Regions from separate parts of the Homo sapiens genome. Here regions 2 and 3 are each linked to region 1. The links are contacts of gene promoters, found by promoter capture Hi-C in blood cells and fetal thymus (Javierre and others, 2016). All regions are on one chromosome and are shown on one strand. Each heading gives the region's core, a stretch centred on a gene start or on the middle of the fragment in contact. The rest is flanking DNA. Distances are from core to core; before and after follow the strand shown.

Region 1 (2,851 bases), core at 142-2,641:
CCTGACCTTCCCTTATGGTTTCTCCTGATAGTTTCCGTTCCTTTCATGGGCTCCTTCTCGGTAGACCTAGATTCTGTCTTCAGCCCTGTTCTCTGTACCTTTTCTACCCTCTCCCTCCACCTCTTGTGTCGGCCCAACTTCTTTCCAGATGATTCCAAAATTGACATCCCTTGCCTCAGTCTCTCCTATGAACTCCAGAATCACCCTTCCAATTGCATTTGCTGGATATCTGCCCCTGGAAGAAGGTGGCCTGCTTCTCCAATCCAACTTGCTCCACACTAAACTCAGTCACATCACTCCAGGTTCTCCTCCAGACTTCCACAATGTTACAGCCCCAGTGTGCTCCTCCTACACCACACAGTCTGTAGACTCTCCTTTGCTGCAGCTTCCGCATTCATCCCCCAGTTAAGGTCCTCATCTCACGGGACTATTGGAATCATCTCCTTCCTGTGTGGCCCCCCGCGAAGCCCTTCTCAGCAGCCAGCTGGGGTATTTAGAACGTTGGTGCTCCCGGTACAGTGGCTTTGTCAGCGTCCCCTGCCTCCAGTGGCTTCCCTGATCTAGCAACCTGGTAAATGGGTAATCTTCCTCACTGCAGCTAAGTTTCAAAAGAACACGGTTGGATAAGCACAAGGCCCTTGTTACTTTGGGAAATAGATAATCCATGCCCCACTGTTAGGGCCAGTCCCGTTAGGGCCAGCTTTGCACCTTCACAGGGACTCAGCAGGAACAGATGGGCTCTACTCTCTGTTATTCCTTTTTGCTTCAGATTAGAGAGACCTTGATTCTCCCCGGGGCCCAGGAAATGTAAAGCTGATGCTCCACAGGACTCTAAGAGGGACACGGCAGTGATGGGGGCTGGTGAGGAAGGGGGATGGAGAACCTCTCTCTTATCAGACAGGCTTGTCCCTAGGGTCCCTGGAAACCCCCAAAGGCCAACCTCTCCCAGGGGCCGACAAACGTAAAGGGCAGGGAGACCTAAGCGGGGAGCTGCGGAGCGCGGGGAGTTTGAAAGCCGCTCCACCGCCCTACTAGTCCGTCCTTTTGCCCCGCCCCCCTTAGGGATCCCCCCGGCAACCGCACAGCTGCCTCGGACTCTGACTTAATTCCCTCCGCGTGCTCTGAATCGCAGAGAGGCAAACCCCCAAACAAAGAGCCGGCAGCTCGCGTGCGGGGCTCCCGGGCGCGTCCTGCCGGCTGGGCTGGGAGAGCCGGCGCCGGGGCGTCGCGGCCGAGCGCTGGGCAGGCGGGGACTAGAGGGCCGGCAGGAAGCCTCAGTGGGCGCAGGGGCGCGGGCCGGGCTGCCCACACGCTGACCTTCCCGGGCTGGGAGGGAGGAGCGCTGGCTGCGGGCGGTGGGCGGCTGGGCGGCCCCGGGAGCCGCCGCTCTCAGTCTCTCTAGGCGCAGCTCCCTTCGCCGCTTCCGGAGCCCCTGGCAGGGTAAGTGCAGAAGCGCGCCCGAGGAGTGGGGGCGCCGCGGGAGGGGGCTGGGGGTCCAGGAGAGGCGCCTCCACCTCCGCTGCCCGCCCCGCCGGCAGTCCCGAGCTAGACTGTCCCGAGCTTCCCCCGGGCGGGCAGAGGGAAGCCGGCTGGGGATGAGGAGTGGAGGAGGCAGGAATGCCTGGGACACTCGCGGGGCATGTGAGCAGGTATTGGTGTCTGCATGGGACACGCAACACGGTGTCCATAACTATGCGCATGAGTCTGCCTTTCTGCACTTGTGCCTTGGGAGAGAGCTCTGGGCCTCTGAGGGCCTCGTGCCGTCCAGCGTGCCCGGGGCATGTCTGTTCCTCTTGAAAATGTCATTCTTTGTCCACCCTGAATTCGAGTAGCTGCCTCTCATGGCTACACCAAAATGCTGTATCTGGTGCACATTGCTTTCAGAGGGCCTGTCTGCCTGTGCAGGGATGTCCTCATGTTCTGGGCACGTCTGTGTATTTGTGACAACATGGCTGTGTAGGCCCTGTCACCTGTGTTTTCGTGCCCATCCCTGCATGTGCAGTTGGCCGGCTCCGTGTGGAAAGAAGGCATGGAAGGTTCTGGGGTGTATCCTTTTCACCAGCCATATGTGCAGTGTGCACATGTGTGAATTGGTGGAAAGTATGAAAGGGAGGCAGCCCAGTTGGGCTTGGCGGGACAGCATCTTAACTTGAGTCTAAGCTGCTGTGTGCAGGAGGAATAAGTGTTCCAGAGGTCTCCAGTTCGTGGCAAGTATTGTGAGGTGAGCGTGGGGGTGGGGGGTGAGGAGAAGAGGCAGCTTCTGGAAAAACTCATAAGTGCACTCTGGGGCATAGGGTGTGTGTGGGGGAGCGTGAAGAAGAGAATGAGGGTGGTATTAGGCCAAAGTGGATAGTCTGTGTTCAATTTGTGGGCAGCTGGATTGCAGTGGAAAGCAGCAGTTAGAGGCTGGAGACAGGTTTGAATCAGAACTTAATGGTTGTCACTGTGTCAGTAGCATTGTTCCCTGGACAGATAGGTCATCTGGGGCTCAGTTGCTTTTTGTGCAAAATGGGACTAATAACCACTGGCCCCATCTGTCTCCCAAGGGACTGGAGGCTCCAATTAATGCCTGGAAATGCTTTGATGATAGTTAAGACTCCTAGGGTAAGGGGCACTACTGGCCTACAGGGGCCAAGTTGGTGGTCTGGCGAGGGCTTAGGTGGCCCAGAGCTGTTTGGTTTGTGGGTAGCAGAGGGAGGCATTTGTGTGCTGTTTCCCACTATATTCAGCATAGCAGGAATTTTATACCCACCTTTGGACTCGTGTGTAAAATATGTACAGGCCTGTGTGATTCCCCATAGTTCTTGTGTGAGTGCTGCAGAACAAGAGGAAAACTGGCGTTGATGTCTTT
Region 2 (2,851 bases), core at 220-2,719, 340 kb after region 1:
TTTGTATATTTAGTAGAGACGGAGTTTCACCCTGTTGGCCAGGCTGGTCTCAAACTCCTGATCTCAGGTGATTCGCCCACCTCGGCCTCCCAAAGTGTTGGGATTACAGGCGTAAGCCACCGCGCCCAGCCTCCCTAACACATTAGTGTATGGACTTCCACTCACTCCTCTCTAGTGTATTTTGGTTTTTTTCAAAAAATAGGATAATTCCTTAAATATTACCTTAGAACTGGTTTTTCTTCACTTGATATCATAAACATCTTTTCACATCAATAAGTTCATTTCTACAAATGTGTACATACAACTCTAGCACAATTTATTCAAGTAATACGCTACTGAACCCTTCAGTTTTTTCTCTTCCTTTTTTTCTATATGAGAAACAATTTAGTGAACATCCTTGTAGCTAAATCTTTGTTTGCAATATTCTGAGATAAAATGCATAAAACCCAAAATTTAACATTTTAACCACGTTCAAGTGTACAGTTCAGTGTTTTGTGTATACTCATAAGGTTGTACAAACATCACCACTAATTCCAGAACGTTGCCATCTCCCCATAAAGAAACTCCATACCTATTAGCAGTCGTTCCCAATTCCTCCCTACCCCCATTGCCTGGCAACCACTAATCTAGTTTCCGTCTCTATGGATTTGCCTATTCCGGACATTTCATATAAATGGGATCATATCACATTTGTTCTTTTGTGTCTGGCTTGTTTCACTTAGTATATAGTATTTCCAAGATGCATCCATGTTGTAGCATATATCAGTGCTTCATTCCTTTTTGGCTGAACTATTTTTTATGCCTGAATTAGTATTCCACTCTTTGGATGTACTACCACATTTTGTTTATCTATTCATCAGTTGATGGACATTGGGTTGTTTCTACCTTTTGGCTGTTGTGAATAGTGATGCTGTGAACATTTTTGGACGAGTTTTGATGTGGGCATATGTCTTCAGTTCTCTTGGGTATACAGCTAGAAGTGGAATTGCAGGTTCAATCTACGTTTAACATTTTGAGGAACCACCAAACTTTTCCACAGCAGCTGTGCCATTTTCCATTCCTACCAGCAATGCATTAGGGTTCTAATTTCCATCTGTGCCAATACTTATTTTCCTTTTCCTTATTATTATTGCCATTCAATTAGGTGTGGTTCTGATTTGCATTTCTTCAATAACTAATGAAGGTGAGCATCTTTTCATGTGCTTATTGGCCATTTATATATCTTCATTGAAGAAATGGCTATTTAAATCCTCTGCCCAACTTTTTTCTTTTCTTTTCTTTTTTTTGAGATGGAGTCTCGCTCTGTTGCCCAGGCTAGAGTGCAATGGTGCAATCTCAGCTCACTACAACCTCTGCCTCCTAGGTTCAAGCATTCTCCTGCCTCAGCCTCCCAAGTAGCTGGGATTATAGGCATGCACAACCATGCTCGGCTAATTTTTGTATTTTTAGTAGAGATGGGGTTTCACCATGTTGGTCAGGATGGTCTCGAACTCCTGACCTCAAGTGATCTGCCTGCCTCAGCCTCCCAAAGTGCTGGATTACAGGCATGAGCCACCTTGCCTGGCCTTTTTTTCTTTTTTTTGAGATGGAGCCTCACTCTGTCACCCAGGCTGTAGTGCAGTGGTGCAATCTTGGCTCCCTGCAACCTCTCTCTCCCAGATTCAAGGGATTCTCCTGACTCAGCCTCTTGAGAAGCTGGGATTACAGGCATGCACAACCACATCCAGCTAATTTTTTTTGTATTTTTTTTAGTAGGTACGGGGTTTCACCATGTTGACCAGACTAGTCTGAACTCCTGACCTCAAATGATCTGCCCGCTCAGCCTCCCAAAGTACAGGGATTACAGGCATGAGCCACCATGCTCAGCCCTTTGCCCAATTTTTAATTGGATTGTTTGTCTTTTCATTGTTGACATATGAAAGTTATTTATATATTCTGGATAGTATGCCCTTATCACAGAAACAATTTACAAATATTTTCTCCCATCCTATAAGTTGTGTTTTCACTTTTTCTTTTTTTCTTTTTTTTTTTTTTTTTACCTTTTCTTAAATAGAGTTGGGGTCTTACTATGTTACCTAGGCTAGTCTCAAACTCTCAAACTCCTGGACTCCAGCAATCCTCCTACCTTGGCCTCCCAAAATGTTGGGATTTCAGCTGTGAGCCACCAGGCCCGGCCCTTCACTTTCTTGATAGTGTCCTTTATACACAAAAGTTTTTAATTTTGATGAAGCCCAATTTATCTTTTTTTCTTTTGTTATTTGTACTTTTGGTGTCATATTTAAGAAACTGTTACCTAATCCAAGGTCATAAATATTTATACCTATGTTCCCTTCAAGAGTTTTATGAGCTCTTACATTTAGGTCTTTGATCCATTTTGAGTAAATTTTTTTTATATCATGTGATACTTCAAGTATCTACTTTGGATAGATTCCTAAAAAGTGGGCATATAATGCTTCAGGAGTGGTTTTGATTTGGGTTTTTTTTTTTTTAAGAGACAAAGTCTCAAGTCTTGCTGCATCTCCAAGGCTGGAGTGCAGTGGCACGATCATAGTTCACTGCAGCCTAGAAATCCTGAACTCAAGCAATCCTCCCACCTCAACCTCCCAAGTAGCTAGAACTACAGGTGCATGCCACTATGTTCAACTACGTTTTTTTATTTTTTGTAGAGACAGGGTCTTGCTATGTTGTCCAGGCTGGTCTCAAACTCCTGGCCTCAAGAAATCCTCCCACTTTAGCCTCCCAAAGTGCTGGGATTACAGGTGTGAGCCACCACACCAGGCCCAGTTTTAAACACAGAAGCTGAATTTCTAATTCCAGTCACAGTTCCATCATCAATGAGGACAAAAGAAGT
Region 3 (2,851 bases), core at 146-2,645, 310 kb after region 1:
TGCCACTGGCCGAACCCCGCCATCAGCCTTCACACAGTTGAGCTCACCAGGAAAGCAGAATCTCTAAAACTCCAGCTGCAGTGCAAGCCCAGCCCCCAGGGACACCGCTGTCCACATCTGAAATAGCTGGCGATCATCACGGGGTGGGAGACAGGATGCAGTGGGCACCTTCCACATTGAAACCCACTCAATTAAAACCCCACGTGTGGGGGACAGACACACACGTACCCATCACACCCAGTCTTACGTGTCCACTGAGACCCTGGTTACGTTAGACATGGCCTCAAAGGAAGTAGGTACTTTCACAAACATCATCTCCTTTGATCTTCTCAACCACCCTGAGGAGTATGTACTTTTGCCCCACTTTACAGATGAGGAAACTGAGAAGACATCAGGCAATTTTTCCAACATCACACAAAGGATAAGGAAAATGTTAGGATGCCAACCCCATGTCTCCAGGTTTCTTTCCACTACAGCATGCTGTTCATTTGTGATCTCGTTCATTCATCCATCCTTCCTTCCACTCATTCCTTCATTCACTCACCTATATTTTTCCCTAAACAGCTACAGGTCACCACTGTCTGGGTTGTTTGCTACTACCTTCTGCTGCTGCCTGAGAAAACCTGGGAGACTGTGATCACATTTTTTTTCCTGTAGAGCTGCCCGAATACAGCTCTTCTCAAAGCCTTGCAGCAGAGATGATACAGCCATCAGCAGCTGATCCTGGAATGAGTGTTGAGAGCAGCACAGACCACTCTACGTTTCTGCTCTGACCACAGGTCTGGCCTAGAATTTGCCCCTCCACTGCACAATGCAGGTAAAAACCTTTAAAAAAATAAATAAATGGTCTCTGAGCCTCCCAGAAATACAGCACTTAGAATGTTGTTTTTGGAGGGGGCATGTGATAAAGAATGGGAAAGATAATAAAGTAGCCTGTCACCCAGCTCACAGGCAGGTGCATGTGGCTGCAGGGGATCGTTTAGTCAATTTAATGACATATTTGTTGAGTATCTATTACTGTGCCTGGTACGGGATGGAGTGGGTCAGGGAATAGGGGAGGGCACAAAGGGAGTCAAAAAGAATAGAAAGAAAGCCGTCAAAGGGCTGATGGTCTGGTTGAGGGAAAAAGACAGGAACCATCTGCTTAGACAACACAGATATAAAGTGTACTTGAGAAATTCAGAGGATGGTAAGGTGCCTGCAAGTGGGGACACAAAAATTTCATTCAGACCATGGAATTTCAGCTAGACAGGGAAGGATGGCCAGAATTTAAACCTGGGATGGTATAGAAGAAAATTACCCAGGCCAGGCGCAGTGGCTCACGCCTGTAATCCCAGCACTTTGGCAGGCCAAGGCGGGCGGTTCACCTGAGGTCAGGAGTTCAAGACCAGCCCCGTCTCTACTAAAAATACAAAAAATTAGCTAGCCGTGGTGGCGCACACCTATAGTCCCAACTCCTCGAGAGGCTGAGGCAGGAGAATCACTTGAACCCAGGAGGCAGAGGTTGCAGTGAGCCGAGCACGCACCACTGCACTCCAGCCTGGGTAACAAGAGTGAAACTCTATCTCAAAAAAAGAAAAGAAATTACCCAAACTGCCTGCTCAACACCATTGCTAATGAAAAAGCCTGCCTTGGTCTCTCCTTCCCTGATCTTAGCTTTTCTTTCTATCTCTGCAAAGCCTCCGTATAGAAATCTGGTTTTATTGTGCCTGGTAAGGGTCCTAGTTCAGTTCTAAAACAATTAACAACCATGAAGGGACAAAAGTCCGAAGTGGGCATCTCGCTTATGGCACATCAGCCTCTAGTCATAGTCACCCTCAGACCCCATCTAGCGGCTGCCCGAATTATTTCATTCAGGGATCTGTGTGTTTGGCTGATAACCAGGCACCACTGGCCCGTGGGGTGCTATGACTATTGCAGTGTTAAAAACAAGGCACTTGGCTGGGAAGACGTCTGCCGTTAAGTGGCAGGCTCATGGACAACGGCCTCAAGGTATTTTTCCTTCAGACATTTGGTCCCACTTTGGCAAGACATCTTGGCATTGCTTGGGCAAGATATTACGCTCTGCTTCTTCAGAGCGTTGGGTGGGAGATACCCCATAGACAGCTGAAGGGACTGGGACCTTGGGAAATCACATTTAAAATTTTTGGACTTGTTTAAAATTGTTTGACTTGGTTTAAACACAGTTCAAAGCCCAGCTGAGGCATTAAGGGTTTGTCACCTAAGGTTGTCATCTAAAATGGGAAATGTGTGCTCTATTCCTCCTTGTGGCCCGGTAGGATGTATTCTGCAGAATTGGGCTGCTTTTAGCTTTGAGCTTGTGAAAAAGAAAAAGTTTTTTTTATTGCAATGCTTCCTGGCTATAATATTCCCTAGGACCTGGGGAATGGTAGCCAGGATTTGGATCTTTAACGTAAAGCCAAGAGCTAAAGAAAATTTTAGTTAGTTGTTAGTCATGGTGGACACATTTATTGGACAGGTGCAAGCCTTTCCCTGCCACACTGAGAGGGTTTCAAAAGCCTTACTGAAAGAAATTTTCCTCAGATTTGGGGTTCCATTCCCCATACACAGTGATAACGAGAGTGCCTTTATTGCCACTTTATTGCCACTTTTTTTTGAGACAGTGTCCCACTCTGTCACCCAGGCTGGAGTGCAGTGGTATAATCACAGCTCACAGCAGCCTCGACCTTCTGGGCTCACAGGATCCTCCCACCTCAACCTCCCAAGTAGCTGGGGCTACAGGCACGCACCATGTCTGGCTAATTTTTTTTTTAATAGGAATGAAGTCTCACTATGCTGCCTAGGCTGGTCTCAAACTCCTGGGCTCAAGCAATGCTCCAGCCTCAGCCAC

Evidence for each region. Contacts are between HindIII fragments. The CHiCAGO score rates a contact against its expected background, and 5 or more counts as called.
Region 2: a contact is called between a fragment that was not itself captured here and the fragment with the promoter of TSPAN11 in region 1, in 1 of 17 cell types (fetal thymus). The highest score is 5.0, in fetal thymus.
Region 3: a contact is called between a fragment that was not itself captured here and the fragment with the promoter of TSPAN11 in region 1, in 1 of 17 cell types (fetal thymus). The highest score is 6.0, in fetal thymus.

What each region holds. Positions count from the first base shown.
Region 1 is chr12:30,925,357-30,928,207 of GRCh38, forward strand. It overlaps TSPAN11 (tetraspanin 11), which reads left to right and starts at 1,392. Exons shown (of 8, transcript NM_001370302.1): 1 at 1,392-1,440. LOC124902911 (a long non-coding RNA gene) reads right to left here and starts at 1,333. Exons shown (of 2, transcript XR_007063264.1): 1 at 1-1,333. The HindIII fragment of the contact is 3,619 bases long and covers 1-2,851 here.
Region 2 is chr12:31,266,445-31,269,295 of GRCh38, forward strand. No RefSeq gene overlaps it. Among named protein-coding and RNA genes, the nearest start is that of FLJ13224, 56 kb to the right of the region's middle. The HindIII fragment of the contact is 8,159 bases long and covers 1-2,851 here.
Region 3 is chr12:31,237,152-31,240,002 of GRCh38, forward strand. No RefSeq gene overlaps it. Among named protein-coding and RNA genes, the nearest start is that of FLJ13224, 86 kb to the right of the region's middle. The HindIII fragment of the contact is 6,965 bases long and covers 1-2,851 here.